Regions from separate parts of the Homo sapiens genome. Here regions 1 and 2 are each linked to region 3. The links are contacts of gene promoters, found by promoter capture Hi-C in human tissues and cell types (Jung and others, 2019). All regions are on one chromosome and are shown on one strand. Each heading gives the region's core, a stretch centred on a gene start or on the middle of the fragment in contact. The rest is flanking DNA. Distances are from core to core; before and after follow the strand shown.

What was found. The method cuts DNA at HindIII sites, captures the fragments that hold promoters and counts their contacts. A contact is called where the count stands out against the background at its distance.
Region 1: a fragment that was not itself captured here is called in contact with the fragment with the promoter of MSANTD3 in region 3 in 1 of the 25 tissues and cell types used here (dorsolateral prefrontal cortex).
Region 2: a fragment that was not itself captured here is called in contact with the fragment with the promoter of MSANTD3 in region 3 in 1 of the 25 tissues and cell types used here (dorsolateral prefrontal cortex).

Annotation. Positions count from the first base shown.
Region 1 is chr9:101,392,396-101,396,239 of GRCh38, forward strand. The region is part of intron 1 of MRPL50 (mitochondrial ribosomal protein L50); the gene reads right to left. Among named protein-coding and RNA genes, the nearest start is that of MRPL50, 4.3 kb to the right of the region's middle. The HindIII fragment of the contact is 6,468 bases long and covers 1-3,844 here.
Region 2 is chr9:99,909,724-99,913,749 of GRCh38, forward strand. The region is part of intron 1 of STX17 (syntaxin 17); the gene reads left to right. Among named protein-coding and RNA genes, the nearest start is that of STX17, 5.1 kb to the left of the region's middle. The HindIII fragment of the contact is 3,702 bases long and covers 385-4,026 here.
Region 3 is chr9:100,425,175-100,429,189 of GRCh38, forward strand. MSANTD3 (Myb/SANT DNA binding domain containing 3) reads left to right here and starts at 1,969. Exons shown (of 3, transcript NM_080655.3): 1 at 1,969-2,219. RefSeq lists silencers at 1,806-2,035, 2,076-2,305, 2,346-2,465. The HindIII fragment of the contact is 14,283 bases long and covers 1-4,015 here.

The DNA of each region.
Region 1 (3,844 bases), core at 488-2,987, 970 kb after region 3:
TAGCTAGACTAAAAAAAACAGAGAAGACACAAATACATAAAATCAGAGGCAAAAAAGGAGATATTACACTGATATCACAAAAATTTAAAGGCTAATTAGAGATTGTTACAAGCAACTATAAGTCAATAGATTGGAAAACCTAGAAGAGATGGATTAATTCCTAGACACGGACAACTTACCAGGATTGAATCACGAAGAAAAAGAAAACCCAAACAGAAATAATGAGAAAGAGGCTGTAATAAAAGTCTCCCATCAAAGAAAAGCTTAAGACCTGATGGCTTCACTACTGAACTCTAGCAAGCATTTAAAGAAGAACTAATGCCAATCAATACGAATTCTACCACAGCTATTCCAAAACACTGAAGAGGAGAGAATACTTCCAAACACACTCTACAAGGCCAGCATTACCCTGAGGCCAAAACCAGACAAAGACAAAATAAAAAAGGAAAACACATTCTACAAGACCAGCATTACCCCGATACCAAAATCAGACAAAGACAAAATAAAAAAGGAAAACTACAGTTCAATATTCCTGATGAGCACAGATGCAAAAACCCTCAACAAAACATTAGCAAGCAGAATTAAACCACACATTAAAATGATCATTCACCATGATCAAGTGGGATTCATCCCAGAATGCAAGAATGGTTCAACATATGCAAATCAACAAATTCGATACATCACATTGATAGAATCAAGAACAAGAATCATGTGATCATTTCAATAGATGCTGAAAAAGCATTTCATACATTTCAACATCCTTTCATGATAAAAACTCTCAATAAACTGGATACTGAAGGAACATACCTCAACATAATAAAGGTCATGCATGACAAACCCACCAAACAAGGACACAAAACAAGCTAGCATCATTGAATGGGAAAAAACTCAAAGCCTTTCCTCTAAGATCTTGAACAAGACAAGGATGCTCACTTTCATCACTTGTATTCAACACAGAACTTGAAGTCCTAGCCACAGCAATTAGACAAGAGAAAGAAATAAAGTACATCAAAATTGAAAAGAAGTCAAATTGTTCTTATTTGATATATGATCTTACGTATCATACGTAAGATATATGATCTTATGTATCATACGTAAGATATATGATCTTATATATCTTGTTGATATATGATCTTGTATTTAGAAAAACCTAAATATCCACCAAAAAAACTCTTAGAAATTATAAATTCAGTAAAGTTTCAGAATACAAAAATCAACATACAAAATCAGTAGCATTTCCATATGCCAATAGTAAACAATCTGAAAAAGAAATCAAGAAATCAATTCCATTAACAATAGCCACACACACAAAAAATCTAGGAATAAACTTCAACAAAGAAGTAAAAGGTCTCTACAATAAAAACTATAAAACACTGATGAAAAAAATTGAAGGGGACACACAAAAAATGGAGATATCCCACGTTCATGGATTGGGAGAATTGATGTTGTTGAAATGCTTATGCTACCCAAAGCGATATACTGTCAATGTAATCTTTATCAAAATACCAATGACGTTCTTCACAGAAATAGAAAAAAAAATCCTAAAATTCGTATGAAACCACAAAATGCCTTGAATAGCCAAAGTAATGCTAAGCAAAAAAAAAAAAAAAAAAAAAAGACCACACCTAACTGACCCCACCTTGCTTCTAACCTTTAAGCTGTCCTTGTTCATTCCTGGGCATAGGCCAAACTAACCTTGGGAAGGAAATGAGTTTACAGTTTGACTCTGAAACAAAATTGGTAATAGCCTTTTTCTGAAAAGACCTCCCTCTTGCCTGGGAACCAGTTTGCTTTTGTAGGACTAACAAATTAGCTACAAGATTAGAAATTATGGTTAGGGGTCATTCAGACTCCGGCTGCAAGAGTCTGATCCTCCCCAAATTGCTCCTGGGATAACACTGCTATTGTAAAATTCAAGGTCAGTGCTTGAGATATTTTGCAGACCCTGCACTCAATGGATTAGCTTACACCACCAAAGCCGGTAATCTGGCTCAATCAGTTCTGTGATCCCACCCAGGATCATAAGTTGGCAAGAACTCACTTAGACCCCCTATGATTTCATTTCTAACCCAACCAATCAACACTCCCCATTTCCTAGGCCCCTACCTGCCAAATTATCTTTAAAACCTCCGATTCCCAAGTTTTCGGGGAGACAGATTTGACTAATAATAAAACTCCAGTATCCTCACAGCTGACTCTGCGTGAATTACTCTTTCTCCATTGCAATTCCTCTGCCTTGATACATCAGCTCTGTCTAGGCAAAGTGAACCCGTTGGGCAGTTACAAAATTATAACCCTACTAGAAGAAAACATTGGGGAGATGCTTCAGGACATTGGTCTGGGCAACGACTTCTTGAGTAAGACCTCAAAAGCACAGGCAATAAGAACAAAAATAGACAAATGGGATTATACTAAACTAAAAAGCTTCTGTGTAGAAGAAAACATTGGGGAGATGCTTCAGGACTTTGGTCTGGGCAATGACCTTTTGAGTTAAGACCTCAAAAGCACAGGCAACAAGAACAAAAATCAACAAATGGGATTATATCAAACTAAAAAGCTTCTGCATAGCAAAGGCAACAATAAACAAAGTGAACAGGCAACCTAGAGAATAGGAGAAAAATTGGCAAACTATCCAACAAGGGATTAATAACCAGAATATACAAGGAACCCAAACAACTCAGTAACAACAACAAAAAAAACCTGATTTAAAAATAGCAAAAGATCTGAATACATATTTCTCAAAGAAGATATACAATGACCAACAGGTATATAAAAAAAATGATCTCTAATCATCAGGGAAATGCAACTCAATAACACAATGAGGTATTATCTCACCTGAGTTAAAATGACTATTATTTAAAAGACAAAAAATAACAAATGCTGGCAAGGATGTAAAGGGGAATACCAGTACACTGTTGGTGGGAATGTAAATTAGTACAACTGCTATGGAGAAAAGCATGGAAATTTCCCAAAGAAATTAAAAATAAAATTACCATATGATCTGGCAATCCCACTGCTGGGTATACATCCAAAAGAAAGTTAATCAGTCTAACAGAGATATCTGTACTCCATGTTTATTACAGCACTATTCACAATAGCCAAGATATGGAATCAAACTAAGTTTCTACCAATGGATGAATGGATATTAAAAAAACCGTACATATACTCAATGGAATATTATTCAGCCATTAAAAAAGGATGAAATCCTGTCATTTGCAGTAACATGGATGAAACTGGAGGACACTCTTTAGTGAAATAAGCCAGGTGCAGAAAGACAGATATCGCATGTTCTCGCTCCTATGTGTGAACCAAAAAAAAAAAAAAGACCTCATGGAGGTAGTAATAAATTGATGGTTACCAGAGGCTGGGAAGGGTAGTGAGGAGGTAAGGTATGAAGACAGATTGGTTAGAAATACAGTTAAAAGGAGTAATACAGTTAGAGAAGAGGACTACAGCTAAAAAGAGTAAGTTCTAGTGTTTGATTTCACAATTGGGTGACTATAGTTAGTAGTAATTTATTTGTATTTCAAAATAGCTAGAAGTGAAGATTTAGAATGTTCCCAAAACAAAGAGATAAATAACGTGATGGATACGTCAACTATTCAGATTTGGCTATTACACATTGTATGCTTGCATCAAAATATCACATGTACCCCATAAATATCTACAACTATTATGCATCCATAAACATTAAAAAAAAATTACAAATAAACATCACCTCATACCCATTAGGATGGTCATTACCAAAAAGACAAGTGTGGTGAGGACATGGAAAAAACGGCACCCTTATATGCTGCTGGTGGGAATGAATATTGGCATAGCCATTATAAAAAACAGTATTAAG
Region 2 (4,026 bases), core at 986-3,485, 520 kb before region 3:
AGGGTGACTATAATAATTCAATTGTATATTTAAAAATAACTAAAAGAGTATAACTGGATTGTTTGCAACACAAAGAATAAATGCTTGAGGTGATGGATACCTCATTTACCCTAATGTGATTATTACACATTGTATGCCTGTATCAAAATAACTCAAATATCCCATAAATATATACCTACTACTAATATATACCCACAAAAATTAAAAATTAAAAAAAGAAGAAATGCAGCTGGGCATGGTGCCTCACACTTGTAATCCTAGCACTTTGGGAGGCCGAGGCAGGTGGATCACCTGAGGTCGGGAGTTCGAGACCAGCCTGGCCAACATGGTGAAACCCCGTCTCTACTAAAAATACAAAAATTAGCTGGGCGTGGTGGCACGTGCCTGTAATCCCAGCTACTTGGGAGGCTGAGGCAGGAGAGTCACTTGAACCTAAGGGGCGGAGGTTGCAGTGAGCTGAGATCGCACCACTTCACTCCAGCCTGGGCAAAAGAGTGAGACTCCGTCTCAAAACAAAAAAAAAGAAAAAAAAAAAAGAAATGCAAATGGCTGATAAATCCACCCTGTTAGTAATTTAAGGAATGCAAAGTAAAGCAATAATGAGACATCATTTTTTTCACCAATGACATGTCTAAGAATGATAATACTAAGTATATTGCTTGGAATATGGATAAATGGACATTGTGTTATGTTTCTGGTAGGAACATAATAGGCATAACCTTTTGTGGGATATGGCTATATATATGTTTTAAAAACCTTGAAAAATCTGTCTACCTAATAATTCTATTTCTAGATATTTATTTTTTATTTTTATGTTACTTTTTTCAATTAATACACAATAATTTTACATATTTATAGGATACATGTGATGTTTTGATACATACATACAATGTGTAATGATCAAATCAGGGTATTTGGGATATATATCATGTCAAACATTTATTATTTCTTTGTGTTAGGAGCACTTCAGATCTTCTAGCTATTTTGAAATATGCAATAAATTATTGTTAACTATAGCTACCTCACTGTGTTATTAAACATGAATAATGTATTCCTTCTATCTAACTGTATGTTTGTACCCATTAATCAACTTCTCTTCACCCCTCCTGCCCCTTCCCATCACTCTACTCTCTACCTCCAGGAGATCAACTTTTTTCCCCCTTTTTATTTAGAAATGGAGGTCTCATTATATTGCCCAGGCTGGCTTCTAATTTCTGGGCTCAAGTGATCCTCCTACCTCGGCTTCCTGAGTAGCTGGGAGTACAGGCTAGATGTTCCATCCATGTTGTTGTAAATGACAGGATTTCATTCTTTTTTTTTTTTTTCTCCCTAGACGGAGTCTCGCTCTGTTGCCCAAGCTGGAGTGCAGTGGTGAGATCTGGGTTCACCGCAACCTCCGCCTCCTGGGTTCAAGCGATTCTCCTGCCTCAGCCTCCGGAGCAGCTGGGAATACAGGTGCATGCCACCACGCCTGGCTAATTTTTTGTATTTTTTAGTAGAGACGGGGTTTCACCATGTTAGCCAGGATGGTCTCGATCTCCTGACCTGATCGGCCCGCCTCCACCTCCCAAAGTGCTGGGATTATAGGCATGAGCCATCGCGCCTGACCCATTCTTTTTTTTAATGGCTGAACGGTATTTCATTGTGTATATACACCACATTTTCTTTATCCAGTCATCCATTGACAGACACTTAGGTTGATTCCATATCTTGGCTATTGTGAATGCTGCTGCAATAAACATGGGGCTGTAGGTATCTCTTTGATATACTGATTTTTTTTCCTTTGGATAAATACCCAGTAGTGGGATTGCTGGATCATATGGTAGTTTTATTTTTAATTTTTTGAGAAGCCTCTGTACAGTTTTTCTTTCTTTTTTTGAGACAGGATCTCACTGTGTTGCCTAGGCTGTAGTGTAGTAGTAAGAACACTGTTTCTTGCAGGCTCACACTTTAGGGCTCAAGGGATCTTCCCACCTTGGTGTCACTGGGACTACAGGCACCCACCACCACACCCAGCTAATTTTTAAATTTTTCAGAGAAGAAGGATCTTGCTATGTTGCCCAGGCTGCCCTCAAACTCTTGGCCTCAAGTGATCCTCCTGCTTCAGCCTTCCAAAGTGCTGGAATTACAGCTATGAGCCAGCGTACCCAGCCCATACTGTTTTTCATAATGGCTGTACTAATTTACATTCCCACCAACAGTGTATAAGAGTCCTCTTTCTCGCCAGGCGTCGTGGCTCACGCCTGTAATCCCGGCACTTTGGGAGGCCGAGGCAGGTGGATCACCTGAGGTCAGGAGTTCGAGACCAGCTTGGCCAACATGGCAAAATCCCGTCTCTACTAAAAACAAAAAATTAGCTGGGCGTGGTGGCATGTGCCTGTAATCCCAGCTACTCAGGAGGCTGAGGCAGGAGAACTGCTTGAACCCGGGAGGCAGAGGTTGCAGTAAGCTGAGCTCGTGCCACTGCACTCCAGCCTGGGTGACAAGAGCGAAAATCTATCTAAAAAGAAAAAAAAAAAAAGAGGCCTCTTTTGCTACATCCTCACCAGCATTTGTTATTTTTTATCCGTTTGGTGATAGCTATTGTAACTGGGGTGAGATGGTATCTCATTGTGGTTTTTATTTGCATTTCCCTGATGATTAATGATGTTGAGCATTAAAAAAAATACCTTTTGGTCATTTGTATGTCTTCTTTTGAGAAATGTCTATTCAGATTCTTTGCCCACTTTTTAATGGAACTATTTGTTTCTTTGCTGTTGAGTTGTTTGAGTTTCTCATACATTCTAGATATTAGTCCCTTGTTGGATGACTAGTTGGCAAATATTTTCTCCCTTTATACAGGTTGTGTCTTTGTTGATTGTTTTAAAGAAATAATTATAGGCAGCAGTATGGATTTATGTGTAAGCAGGGTAATTACACTGTAGTTTATAATAGTGGAAAATTAGAAACAACCTAAATAGCCAATAATAGCCAATTTGTAAAATTGTGAAGCATCTACGTAATTATAGAAAATTATTTACATGGAAACATTTTTATTATACTTCATCACACTATTCAAAATAAATGTTTTATTTTCTTTGTTCTTTCATCCACCCATTTATTCTATCCGTTAACAGTTTATTCTATTCATTGCTCCTTGCTATTCCACTCCTTTGGGTTTATTTTCTTTATTGTTGAAATATTCCTTTAAGTACTTTTAATGAGGGGCTTGGTAATAAACTCTCTTAGTCCTTGTATGTCTGAAAATGATTATTTTGCTTTCATTTTAAATGATAATTTACCTGGGAATATACCAACTCTCTCAGCACTTTGAAGGTATTTCTGTCTTTTAATATCTTGCTTTTAAAAGCAATATATTATTGCTTTGTCAGTCTTTTATGTCTCATTTTTTTAATGATTCTTGTTCTTTAATGTTTTGCAATTTCCCTTCCATGTATTTAGGCAAATTTGGTTTCTTTTTAATGTATGCTACTTGAGGCTGATGTGCTTTTTCAGTTTGAGGTCTTACATTTTAATTATCAGTATATTCTCTTTGAATAATTCCTTCTTACTGTTTTCTTTGTTCTTTCTTTCTGGGACTTCTACTTGTTATTAAGCTTCTGATTTTATCCTTTATGTCTTTTATCTTCTTTTTTATACTTTTCATCTTTTTATTCCTCTGTGTTCTGAGTGATTTCTTCCAATCAATAATTGTTTCTTATCTATATAATTTACTGTTTAACACATCTTTTGAGATTTTCATTTCTAGAAGTTTTACTTGTTTTATATTCAGGCTGGCCTCTTACTGTTTCATAATATCTATTTTTTTAAAAGATTCTGTTCCTTTTTGGAATAGAATGTTTTTGGATATTTAAAAATATACTTACTTTAGTTTCTTTTTAAAATTATTTTATTATCTTTCGTCCATTAGGTATGAATTTTCCTGTTTTGTTGGGTCTGTGGATGGTCTCTTTTGGTAATGAATTTCTCCATATGTCCCCAGTTTCCATTCACTGTTGCACCTGTTTTACCCTCTTTGTTTTTGTA
Region 3 (4,015 bases), core at 719-3,218:
GGACTTATAATATGGCACTAAGTGGAAAACAAGTGTAAATGATGTACAGCCTTGGCTTTCGGTGTGGTATCATAGCTTGTTTGCTAGCACATTGTAGCAACTCCCCTGGTATAATTTTAGTTTCCAGGCTCTCTGGACAATTTCAAGGCCTCCTGGACATCAGACAAATTATTGTTAAAATAATGAATGAGATGCCTGTAATCCCAGCACTTTGGGAGACTGAGGTGGGCAGATCACTTGAGGTCAGGAGTTCGAGACCAGCCTGGCCAACATGGCGAAATCCTGTCTCTACTAAAATTACAAAAATTATCCAGGAGTGGTGGCACATGCCTATAGTCCCAGCTACTTGGGAGGCTGAGGCAGGAGAATTGCTTGAACCCGGGAAGCGGAGGTTGCAGTGAGCCAAGATTGCACCATTGCACTCCAGCAGACTCTGTCTCAAAAAAAAAAAAAAAAAAAGAAAAGAAAAAGAATGAGGACCAGTATAGCTCTTAGTTTAGGGTCTTTATTTTTATTGGTGCTTCTGCCCTGGATTGTTTTTTGAGGGAAGAAAGAAAGGGTTGCGTGATTCTTTGTACATAGTGAAAACCTAGATCAGTTTTTACTTTAGGGCTATGGATAGTGGGAGTTGGGAGGGCAAGCAATAGTCTCAAAAATGTTCAAGGAATTAAAACACAAAAACGGAAAATTGCAAGTGTTGACAAGGTTGTGGAAACTTGGAACCCTCAAACATTGGTGATGGGAATGTAAAATGATTCATTCAGCTGCTGTGGAAAACTTTTTGGCAGTTCCTGGAAAAGTTAAACATAGAATTACCCTATGACCCAGAAAGTCCACTCCTAGGTATGTATCCAAAAGAACTGGGAACAGGTACTCAAATATGTGTACAGGCATGTTCAGAGCAGCACTATTCACAATAGCCAAAAGGTGGAAGTAACCCAAATATCTATCAAGGGATGAATGAATAAACAAATTATAATATACACATACAATGGGATATTAATCAGCCATAAAAAGGAATGAAGTACTGATCCACGCCTCAACATGGATGAATCTTAAATACAGGCTAAGTCAAAGAAACGACACAAAAGGCCGCATATTGTATGGTTGCATTTATATGAAATACCCAGAAAAAAGTAAACTCACAGAGATAGAAAATAGCTGAGTCGTTGCCAGGGTCTGGAGGAAGGAGGGACTGGGGAATTACTGCTTAATGGAGTATGGATGTTTCAGAACTAGATAGAAGTGGTTGCTCAACATTATGAATGTAATAAATGCCACCAAATCGTTCGCTTTTAAGTGGTTTATGTTATGCGAATTTCACCTCAAAAAAAAAAAAAGTTAAAAAGCCTTCTCTGCCTTTCTCTGGGGTTGGAGTCTTCCCAATGGATCCAGGGCAAAAGAAACATCCAGCCACTCTGTTTGCGGGAGGAGCAAAGGGTGGCTTGTCCCGACAGTTTGAGCTGTTGTGCATGCATTTACACACGCATTAATTCCAAATGAGTCAGCACAGTGTCCGAGACAGGTCCTGGGCTCCAGTGAGCACAGTCGCTCTCCTGGGGGAGGCACGTTCCACAAATTAACAGAAGTTCTGATAAACTCAGCATAGGGGGATTCGCTGTCCCAAGTATCAAGGAGTCCTAAAAGAAAAGGGCCTATTTCAGTCGGGGGACCTGGACTGAACTAACTCGTGTTCATGGCCGCCAAATCCCGTGTGACAAATGTATTCTTTTGTTGTTCATAGAAATAAAACAGTTTTTCGGGCCGCTTCAGGAGCTCCTCTGCAAAGGTGGGGAAAAAAGGCAACTAAATCAGCACGAGGACGTCAGCCCGAGGATGTCAGGAGCGGGGTCGGTGCGGACGGGCAGGTGGGCGGGGGGGCACCCCGCGCCCCGCCCCAGTCCCCTGGAGGCCGGCGGCCGCAGCTCGGGGAAGTGGGGACTGGCGCGGGGCCGCGCTCCCGCCCTCCTCGGCGGCGCCGACGGACCGGCAGGCGGCGGGCGGTCCGCGAGGGGGCGGCGGCGTCCGGGCTTTGTGGCCGCGGCGCGCGCGGCGGGGCCTGGCCGGCCGGGGGCGCGCCGCCGCCGCCGCCGCCGCCCGGCGTTCGGGAGCCCGCGGCCCTCCCGGCCGCCCTGCTTGCGAGAGGAGCCCAGGCCGCCCGCCCTCGCGCCTCGCCGGCCCCTCCCCCGGTCGCCGCGGCTGCCGCGCCGCCGCTGCAGGTAGGAGGCTCCCCTTCCGGGCGGGCCGCAGCCGGGCGGGGGCGGGGGTGGGGGGCGCGGGCCGGGCGTAGAGGGGGCCGGGGGCCGGCATGGAGGGTTTTCGGGCCGAGCCGCTGCGACCCCGGCCTTGCAGGCTGGGCGCCGGGCGGCCGCCTCTGCGCGCCGCGATGGGACTCGGTGAGTAGGGCCGGCCTGCTGCCTACAAAGCCCCGGGGCGCGGGCCTCTGGGGTACTCAGTGGCGCGCCCACGGCTGGGAGCGGGGTGGGCTTTGGACTCCCGGGCTCGGGGAGCTGCTCGGGGGGAATCCAGGTGACCTGCAGTACCGCGGTCTTCCCATCCCGGCGTCCCCACTGTGTGCTGATCACTGTGCTCGGCGCTTTTCCATACTTGTCTCCTTTAAGACCTCCAGTGCCCCGCCCGTCCAGAGTGTAACGGGAGGGATCCCTCACTTGCAGGATGAAGGCCGAGCATCACATCCTTGCTTGACTGACCTTGGGAAAGCTCCTTTACTCCGAGCCGGGGCTACTGTTTCTGTAAATTAGAGGCGGGGGTCGGGGGGGCGTGGTATAATATCTACCCTCAGGTACTATTGTGAAAGATAATGTATGTAAATGATAACAGCTAAATTTTGAGCACTCTGTATGTACCAGGCCCTAGGTACTAAACAGTTGGCATGAATTATCATTGAATCATCACCCTGGCGCTGTGAGGTAGTTACTGTAAATTGCATGAATAATCTTTATTTAGGAGTACGAAACAGTGAAGAATTTAGTCTCCCTATTCCGATTCAGGAGGTTGGGTATTTCTTAGGCGTGATAACATTTAACATTACAGACGTTCCTGCAGTATCGAGGAGAGTAGTTATAGGATGCAGGGATATATTTGTCATACATTTAAAACTGGAGGTAGGATAATATCAGGGCCAGAGAGTGTGCCTTTCAGCATGTCAGAGCAGATGATTGTATTCCAAGGAAATTGCTGAATATTAATTAAAAAACATAGTTTCTGAGTTAGGATTGAGGATGGCTGTGGGAGTCCAGGGCCAGAGAGAGACATGGGATGGACAAGGGGGAGAAGAAGGATTCTGAAGTCCTGGAGGAAGATGTAGAGGAAGGCACCAGGGTTCACCATCCCTCCCCTGCAGCATTGCTGGGCCAGATTTCATCCCTCCCGTAGAGACCCGGGCTAGGGGACAAAGGCTGCTGGGGCAGGGGGTGGGGAGGGATGTTATAGGTTGTCTCTTTTTACTCCCAGGCCGCCAAAAATATTCAGATTGATGGAGGGTCAGGTGATTGGGCCTCCTAAAATGCCATTATCCCTTCTCACAAAATTCTTGTGTTTCAGGGCATGGGGATGCTTGCCAGCCCTAATGGTTGATGAGATGCTTAAAATACAAAGGTCTCACTGATATAATGGAAGAGTGCATTTTCAACACCATTCACTGGGTTAGAGAAGTAATGGGCCTGAGGAGATTATTTTGGGTTTAGAATGGGGAGAACTAAAAAGGCTTTGGATCCTGAAGAAGGAAGAGAGGCAGGAAGGGCCCAGGCACTGCACCTGTGGGGAAAGGCAGGAGAAGAAGGAGCTGAGGACTTCACCCCACCATCTGCAGAATACCCAACAGGCTGTTCAGTTCTCAGCTACCAAGGGGGCACCCTTTCCTCTCCCAGTTGGTGATGATTTGTTAACGTATTGTGGAAGATCAAGGGCTGGACTCAGGCACTCCTGTCCTGAGTGAGTAGGAAAGACGTCTGGGAGAAGGGTGGTTTATTTTGTTTTTAACCAGGCATTGAAG